Regions from separate parts of the Homo sapiens genome. Here region 2 is linked to region 1. The links are contacts of gene promoters, found by promoter capture Hi-C in blood cells and fetal thymus (Javierre and others, 2016). All regions are on one chromosome and are shown on one strand. The core of a region is centred on a gene start or on the middle of the fragment in contact, and the rest is flanking DNA. Distances in the headings are between cores, read along the strand shown.

Evidence for each region. Contacts are between HindIII fragments. The CHiCAGO score rates a contact against its expected background, and 5 or more counts as called.
Region 2: a contact is called between a fragment that was not itself captured here and the fragment with the promoter of BAG2 in region 1, in 1 of 17 cell types (activated CD4 T cells). The highest score is 5.7, in activated CD4 T cells.

Annotation. Positions count from the first base shown.
Region 1 is chr6:57,169,517-57,173,599 of GRCh38, reverse strand. It overlaps BAG2 (BAG cochaperone 2), which reads right to left and starts at 1,274. Exons shown (of 3, transcript NM_004282.4): 1 at 790-1,274. The coding sequence starts at 902. ZNF451-AS1 (ZNF451 regulatory antisense RNA 1) reads left to right here and starts at 1,387. Exons shown (of 4, transcript NR_110742.1): 1 at 1,387-1,526; 2 at 2,502-2,595. It overlaps ZNF451 (zinc finger protein 451), which reads right to left. Exons shown (of 15, transcript NM_001031623.3): 15 at 3,295-4,083. RefSeq lists an enhancer at 370-1,127 and silencers at 862-1,131, 1,182-1,261. The HindIII fragment of the contact is 6,211 bases long and covers 1-3,569 here.
Region 2 is chr6:17,608,379-17,612,816 of GRCh38, reverse strand. FAM8A1 (family with sequence similarity 8 member A1) reads right to left here. Exons shown (of 5, transcript NM_016255.3): 5 at 1,102-4,438. Among named protein-coding and RNA genes, the nearest start is that of FAM8A1, 10 kb to the right of the region's middle. RefSeq lists silencers at 633-833, 1,993-2,193. The HindIII fragment of the contact is 4,181 bases long and covers 897-4,438 here.

The sequences.
Region 1 (4,083 bases), core at 25-2,524:
GTTTAGAAATTCTATACAAGTCTACTACTGTATTACCAAATAAATTCTTAAGCAAGAAAAGGGGAAAACTATCTTTTCATGCTTTCAGGCCAGTAACTAGCACTTAGTCTTCTATGTAGGGAGGTGCCCAATAAATACCGAGAGACGAACGGAACCGCTGAATCCCGTCCGCGAGGTTAGGGGAGAAACAGAAGCGGCAACGTCTCTGCTGCACGAAGCACCCGGTAACTTACTGCCTACCCCTCACTCCTGTCTAATCTTTGCTCTCAATGGATTGCTGGGTTGGTTTTGTTTTATTCATTTTTGTTCTGAAGCAAGGAAACTTAACTTCACGTGGAGGGCCACTGTAAACTGCTGCCTCCCTTAAAAAATGCATAACGAGAAGAGTAAGTTAAAACGTTTGGGGCCACACAGAAGGTTCTAGAAGTTCTGCAGACCCAAGCTGCCACAGTCCTTAATCGCATGGAATCTCACTGTAACTTTTATCTCCTCTGATTTTTTTCCGCTCCCTAACACCTAGGTAAATTAATCAAAGTGTGGCCACCGATAACGCCCTCACAGGTTTAGCTTAAATCGAATGCGTTTTCTCTCGGACTAGGGGAGATAATCCAAGAAACAAACAAAACTACACCACGTCCATCCACAACAAATCTCAACAAGCAACTTCGGTTGCCGCAGCCTCACTGTGCCCCAGGCCCCGGCCCGCCACACGCGGCCTCCGTCCGCTAACCGCCCGCGAACCGCCCGCGCGGCGAGCAGAACGCCCGAGACCGCCCGCCCGGAGCTCACCTGAGCTCCAGCTGGTCCAGGCTCTCCAGCAGGCGGCTGGAGCGGTCAGCCATGGAGGAGGAGCGGCAGAAGCGCCCCTCGTTGGCTTTAGCGTTGATCTTCGCCTGAGCCATCTAAGCCTCCGACGCGGGGTAGCCAAGAGGTCACCGGCCCCTCCGGCGGCAGCGAGTGGAGCGCTCCTTGGGCTGCAGGCGTCGCCGTCACCACGCGGGCGCCCGCCCTCCCTCTGACGCCCGCGGGGGCAACCCGGGAGGACTCGCCGACACCGCGGCTGCAGCGTAGCCAAAGAAGGGCAGGCGCGGCGCCCGCGGGGCTCGGGGACGCCGGGCCTGGGAGGGGGCTGCAGCGGCTGGAGTTAGAGGTTCGCGAGCCACACGGGCTCGAGGATGGGCCGACAGGGGCTCGGGCCTGGGGAGCGCAAGTCTCTGAGGCACGGGAGGGGCGGACGCAGAGACCGAGCGCCTAATGTGGCTAGCGGATCGTCTGCTCCCCGGACCCAGGAACTACCCGAAGCCCGCGCGGACCCACAGACCACCCCCAGCTCCGCCCCGCGAGGCCCCGCCTCTTCATGCAACCTAAAAGTAACCAACTCCCCCCACGCGAAGGTTCCTATCGGTCGACGGGCTGTGGGTGTATTGCTCAGTGACGGCTTCGTTTAGTTTCTCCCAGCACCCATAATTCAAAGCAAGAACAACGACATTATGGGGAGAAAACGTCCTTTTGTGAAACAGAAGGCAGTAAGTACAGCTCGTAGGCAGCCCACACTCACCTGACCTTCCTGTTACCACTTTATACTGAGATGAGAGTAATGAAAGCCCGGACAACACTGAAGCTATGAAGTAAAAAAGAAAAAGCTACTCCATCTTTCCCTGTCTAGCTAGATGTGGGAAGCAAAGTGAATTTACTTCATTTTTACCATTCTAATTTTCTTTTGTTTTTGAGATGGGGTCTAACTGTCGCCCACGTTGGAGTGTAGTGGCGCGATCACGACTTACTGCAGCCTCGACCTCCCGGGTTCAAGCGGTCCTCCCACCTCAGCCTCCCAAAGTGCTGGGATTACAGATGTGAACCACCACGCCTGGCTTAATGAAGGGGTTTTAAATTTTTGCTATTAAAATTATTCCTGTTGAGCGAGCCGAGATCTCGCCACTGCACTCCAGCCTGGGCGATAGAGCGAGACCTTGTCTCAAAAAAATAAATAAATAAATAAATATTCTGAGTGAAATAATTGGCATTAAAAAGTCCTCAACTTTTAAAAATCCTGTTAACAAAAAAGATGCAGTAGGCCTCTAGGTCAGGCACCAGCTGTCGGTAAAAGACGGAATAGAGCTGAGGATACAAAGATTAGTCTACTTAAAAAGTTAGGCTTTAGTCCCCTCTCCTGATAGCTCTATGCCTCTCATTGCAAGGATGACAATGTACAGGGCACAGAAAATGATAGATAATAATAGTTTAAAGCTGAGCCACCACCTTTAATCAGAGATCAAAGCCATTTAAATACTTGAACAGAGTTGAAGCCCTTAAGGCTGGATCCCAATTCCCTCTGAACTCATTTTAAATCCTAATTAACTCTTGGGGTAGGGGATTATTTGACCTTATTAAAAATAACTTTATCATGACACAAACGAAAACAAAACACATTTTGTGAGTGGTTTGAAAGTCTATCAAGTGACTTTAGAATCATCCTGAACTCTTTTTCTCTCTTATCCTAGATCCACACCATTAGTAAACCCCATCAATTTTGCCTTCAGAATATATCCAGATTCTTCCCAATTCTACCGCCACCATTCTGGTTCAAGCTACCTGGTGAGTTTGCACCTGGAATACTACAATACCTTCCTCTCTGGTCTCCCTGCTTCTACTCTTGCCTCTCATGTACATGTTATCTCAGTGCAGCAACTACAGCAATCCTAAATAAGGCAGATCATACCATTTATTCTCAGAAACCTTCACTGGCTCCTTACCTCAAAGTAAAAGCCCAGGTCATTAGAAAAACCTCAGTAAGTTCATTTCCTATTACTCTCCTAGCTCATCCTGTCAGCCATACTAGTCTTCTTGCTTTTCCTTGAATATACTAAGCTCCTGTCTGGACCTTAACCTCCTCCACCTGGAACTCTCTTCCCGATATGTATTTTCATCCTCATTCCCTCACCTTCTTCAGGTCTTTGCTCAAGTTTACCTATCAGTGAGATCTTTTCTGACAACCCTATTAAAAATAGCAAGCCTCCCCCCAACTCCCTGTCCCTGCACTATTTATTCCCTTCCCTTCTTTATTTTCCGTCGTTACACGTATCACCATCAGATATGCAGTTTTATTGCCTTGCTTACTAACATTGTACAATCCCCTCCTCTCCACCAATATGTGCTCCACAGAGGGGTAAGGGCTTTGTTTTGCTTACTGGTATATTCCAAGTGCTTAGAACAGTTGCTGGCACATGGTGGGTACTCAATATTTTGTGATTGAATGAATTAATGAGTGAATGATGTAATGAAAAGATAAGCATCTTTGTCAATGTTAGAAACATTTACTTCTGACGATAATCCATATAGCTTTCTCTGATGTTACACAGCGATTACATCTCCTTGTGTCTAAATTAAAGTCAAAGTATGAATTTTAAGATGATTTTTAATTATTTAACAAGTAGAAATACGATCAGTGACAATTATCAATTAAAACATTAAACAACCCAGTTACCTTTTCTTAACAGTCATGATGAAATATCCCTTTCCTGTCTTATCAGAAGCCTTAATTATTCTCTACCACACACACCACAAAAGCTTCTTAATAGAGCATCAGTGTCCATCACACCTTTGTGTAGAATCTCTGGCAACAAGGTGCTGTCTCCTCTTGCCCTGCCCCCACATCTGCTTAACTACTCTTCTTTCTGGAATGCCTCTTTTGCTCCCATTTTGTGAGCTCCTGCAGATGTGTTTAAGGTCCAGCTCAGTGACTACCTCCTAGAGCCTTGCTTGACCACTTAAACATACAAACTAAAAGCACAATGTGGTCATTTCGGAAAGATGATTGATAAATTCTCAAGCCACAATGTCTAGTTTTTAAAAAATGCAAGCAGGGAGGAACAGAAGTGACATATCAAGAAATTAAAAACACAAATTATAGATTGAAAAGACTATAGTAATAAAAAAATTCAATTTCACACTAAAATATTTAGTGTTACAGAGAAGGAACCAAATTCTAGCCTTTATATTTTGTCTTAAATATAAAGAAAAGCTTTATATTTATAGAAATGTTTTTAAGTTTGGTAAATAATTACTACTAAAAATTTTTAGAGA
Region 2 (4,438 bases), core at 1,738-4,237, about 40 Mb after region 1:
ATGTACCGTTAGTAGTAGTTGGCAGGGTATGTCAAATATATGTTCTAGGACCCCCATCACCAGAAACTGGGACTGGATAGGTTCCAAAAGTCTGCATCATCAAATAAGCACCTGGCAGACTGATGCACTGAGGTTTGGGGGTGTCACTTTAAGCAAAGTGCTAGGTGGTTTTGAGTAATTACGATTCCGGGCATTGAGAAAAAGGTACGGTTCAGACCACTGAAAAATGTCTTTAAGCTGCCTATTAATACTTGTTACAAATTCTCCTCTGAAATTACTTGTTTATCTAATTATTATTTTATTACTTGAAATTAGTTATTGAACTAATTTTAACAACATATAACCAGGCCATATGCTGGTTAAGCCTGGAAAGAACTTTTCAATTGGAAAGTATTATTTTACTTTGGAAAAGTAAAATACAATGGAAATTTTATAGTGGTTATTTTAGCCGGTGCATTTAATGGAAACTGACAAAAATTTGGTCTAGTAAAATTGAGAAAATGGAGGTAGTAGGTCTAGCTACACGCATCAGCTGTATGACCATGTCGGTCAGAGACTTCCTTTTGTAATATAGGGCACCTTTGTAAACTTGTCTCAAAAATCTACTGTAGTTCTAAAACAAGTTTGTGGCTAGGCTCATAACAGCAGCACATTGTCTACAGGACTTGGACCATCTTTTAGCTACAGTCTAGTTTATCCTTTATTATCTTTGCCCCTGTTGAGTGAGGAACCCGTTGTTTTGCTTCCTGCCTTCTCTCTGGACCTGTTCATAAAAGTTGTTAGAATGGGAAAGGCTTTTAAGGTCAGAACTGGGTTTAAATTGCCCAGATGAGACTTGTGTGGTGGTTGTGATGGTTAACAACTCTTGAAGGACTGGATTAGTTTAATAGTAAGCTTAATTCATGTACAGGTAACTTCTGAGTGTGCCTGCTAAAAGAATATATCCTTAAAGATGGGCGATTCTTTTTTCATAGATCTCTATTTCTGAAAGCATTCTAGTTTACTGCTAAACCCACTGGAAAACCTGTATTTGGAGGCAAGGTCTCCCTAAGCAGATTCTAGAGCAAACTGTCTCAAAGAAATAGACAAAATACAGATGCATTGATGACTAAGTATTTATTGAGACAAATAATACAAATTGGTGGCATACAAATTATTAAAAATAGAATGCTGAATTTTATTTATAGGTGGGCCATCAGATACTGTTTACAGGTTAAGCCTTACTATAATGAACTGCAAAGAAGTATGTATACTGTTTGAAATGAGGAACTTTATCCAGGCAAACATGGGATGTCAAGAGTGGCCTGTGGTACTGGAGACAAGGAATATCAAGTAATTGACATGTTACTTGTCTGTCAGATTTTAAGAATACTGTTATTTAGGCATATTCAAAGAAACAACTGCCTGTTTTAATAGGGATAAGTATATAACGAAAACATTTAATATCCATACCCCCCTCAAAAAGCCCTTTATTCCCAAGTAGCAACTAGTGTAAATTAATTTTCAATTCCTTTCTACCCTTCCTTTGCTAGAAATACTTATGCATAACTAAAACACTCAAGTCACTGAAGGGAACAAATCCTTTTACTGTCACTTGAATCTAAAAACACTCATTTTGTAATTTGGGCGAAGTAGCTCTCAAATATAATGCATTTTTTTCTATCCTATATATATACTTGGGTAAAATCGGAAGGTGAGTGCTTAGGCAGAAATAAGTAACTATTAAACCAGTGGGAGCAAAGTTCAGTTGGGCAATACTCTTTATGATACTGACAAGTGAAGGCTTATTAGTTCCAAAAGTGCTGGCTTTATTTCTGTAGTCACAGAGTAGTCTAAAGGTAAGGCTTACCCAGCTCTTGGCTCCCAAGTTAATGTTATTTATTCAGTATGCCAGATTTTTCTCAAGGTGCATTAGCTACTCAGGATAATTTTACTGGTGGGAACTGAGATTTTCTAGACGCCTAAATTAACTGCCAATTCTGGTTTATCTTAGGGACATGCTCATTGAAACAGTATTCTCACTCAGCTTGAATACTAAATTTTGTTCCCTTATTGTTAAAGTGATGAATATGTTTGTACAATGAAGACAACTTTCTTTTGGCTTTTTAGGCTACAGCTTCAGCATGAGAATTATACTTTGACACAGAAAATCAGGTCTATAAGTGAAATATAATAAAGTGTTCTGGAAAGCAGGAGACTACCTTACAACCCCAAGAGAAAAATATGTGGCACTAAGGTCTGGTTCCTTCTTCCCTCGTTGTTTTGTCATTTTTTTCCAAACTTTGGGAATCAAAATCTCGGTGCAAATACTGAATTCATAAATTGAAACAGACTCTTGGGTTCTATTATGAAGGCAAATAATACTTCTATGTATTTTGTAGGGTTATACAGTATAATACCTCGAATCCATGGTTGGATCTGACTGAACCTACATAGATACTAATCTGAATAACTCATATATAGAAAATGTGCAATATTCTAAGTACAAAAAATTAAACTGGACTAGTTTGCTTTTGTTTTATAGTATAAATGAAAATAATCTCGATGGCAAACTATTCAATTATCTGAGCAGAAATTATGAATGAAAGATGTATTCCAGACCTATATGATTGAGGGACATTTCAACTTGAATTCCCCAGCGGCAAAAGTGGTGTATAAACTAATGCTAGTGTATACACTACTAAAGTGCCAAGTTACGTAACATCTCCTAATTTTAAAAATGAAAGATTTTTCTTTTTTTCACTGTGAAGGGCAGTAACACAATCTTCCCCATGGGTGCAACTGAATGATTTATTTAGTACATTGATGTACTTAATTATTAGTGTTTCTGGGAAGCTGGATTTGACATAAACTTATTTTGAAAAACACGGTTTATGAAATTTTGTACTAAAATTATTAATAGACATTAAGTTTCTATAATCAAATGTGAATATCTGTTGTCACAGTTTTAAACGTCAAAGAAAAACCTTTGAAAATTAATATAGTGATAATAGATATGTGCTGTGTTTGCTGTTAAATTTAAGACCAAGAACACCACCTAGATTGATCCCTTAAGTAATCAAATTTTGAACTGTGCAATGCAGTTTAGTGTGTCTTTGGAAAACAATGTCAGAGCTGGAGAAAATACCTAAGAATCAAAACTTAAACCATAAATAGTACAGGTATATCTCAGCACAGCTAACTGGGACATCTAGGAAAAGCACACACACATAATAAAACCCCACAATTTTGCTTCAACAGAAGAATAAAGCAAAATGGCAACATACACAGTATCACTTTGCGTAACATTTCCCCCCAAACTTTAGCAGACCCAAAATGAGCTTAAAGACCCTAGAATGATGTCTGGGAATGCTAGTCTCTCTTGCTTTAGAGAGAATAGTCCATAATGGGAAAATTGCTAATATTTCGCAAGCTATTAATTAATAGTACTTAGAGTTAATCATGAAATATTAAGATTTTTTTAACTCCTTGATGTTTCAACAGTCATAGAACTATATAAAATATAAGGAAAGTAGTATGTGAATATGCTGTATATAAATAGAATTTACACTGAGAACACTGAGAAGCACTAATACTTTCTTCATGCTGCACACATACTGGGAATACTTTTACAGTAAATATGCAACTGTTTGATGGAGGTGATTTCTCCCCACATTTATAGTTTGATTCAGGGCACTGAAAACACTTGCACATAAATTATAAGTTCAATTTACAGTGAAAACTTACTCCCCCACCATTAACAGTAATCACTAACTTACCTTTTAAAAAAAAAAACCAATTAACATAGCAATATGACTTGATACTTTTTCATCATCATGAGAAACTTGCCCCTAAATACATGTTCAAGCATTAAGAATAGTTGTAAAGTTACATCATTACGAGAGGGAACTGCAGTATGGATTTGAAAACTTCAGGTAAGGGAACTGCTAGGCCTGCCTCACTTGTCCCTTTCTCTTGTAGCCAACTCACCACCTCCTGGGATGGGAGACAGTGGATTATCCAATTTGTGTTCTCATTCCCTCCTCTAAACACCAAAGACAATTTCCCCAGGAAGTGTAAACTAAAAGATGAGTTACATAGGTGTTTACAAAACACAACTGGACATTTTCCATTATTTTGGGATAAACCAAAATAAATTTTAAAGTTTCATTTGGAGATTTCAAAGCTGAAAATGCTTTCAGCAAATTCTTAGATCTTAAGAAAGTACCTTAGATCTTAAGAAAGTATATATTGTCCATTGTTTATAAAATCATTTGCCTTTTTGATCTAAAAATTTTAATACTTGAATTTAACAGGTTTTTCTTCTGGACAAGTTCTTTGGCATTCAAGTATAATCAATACTTTCAGAGTAGTCACCTGCATCACACTGGAGTGACTGCTTTAATTTCTAAATCATCAATTAGTGTAACCCAGGGATACTGATGGCCTTGATACATAA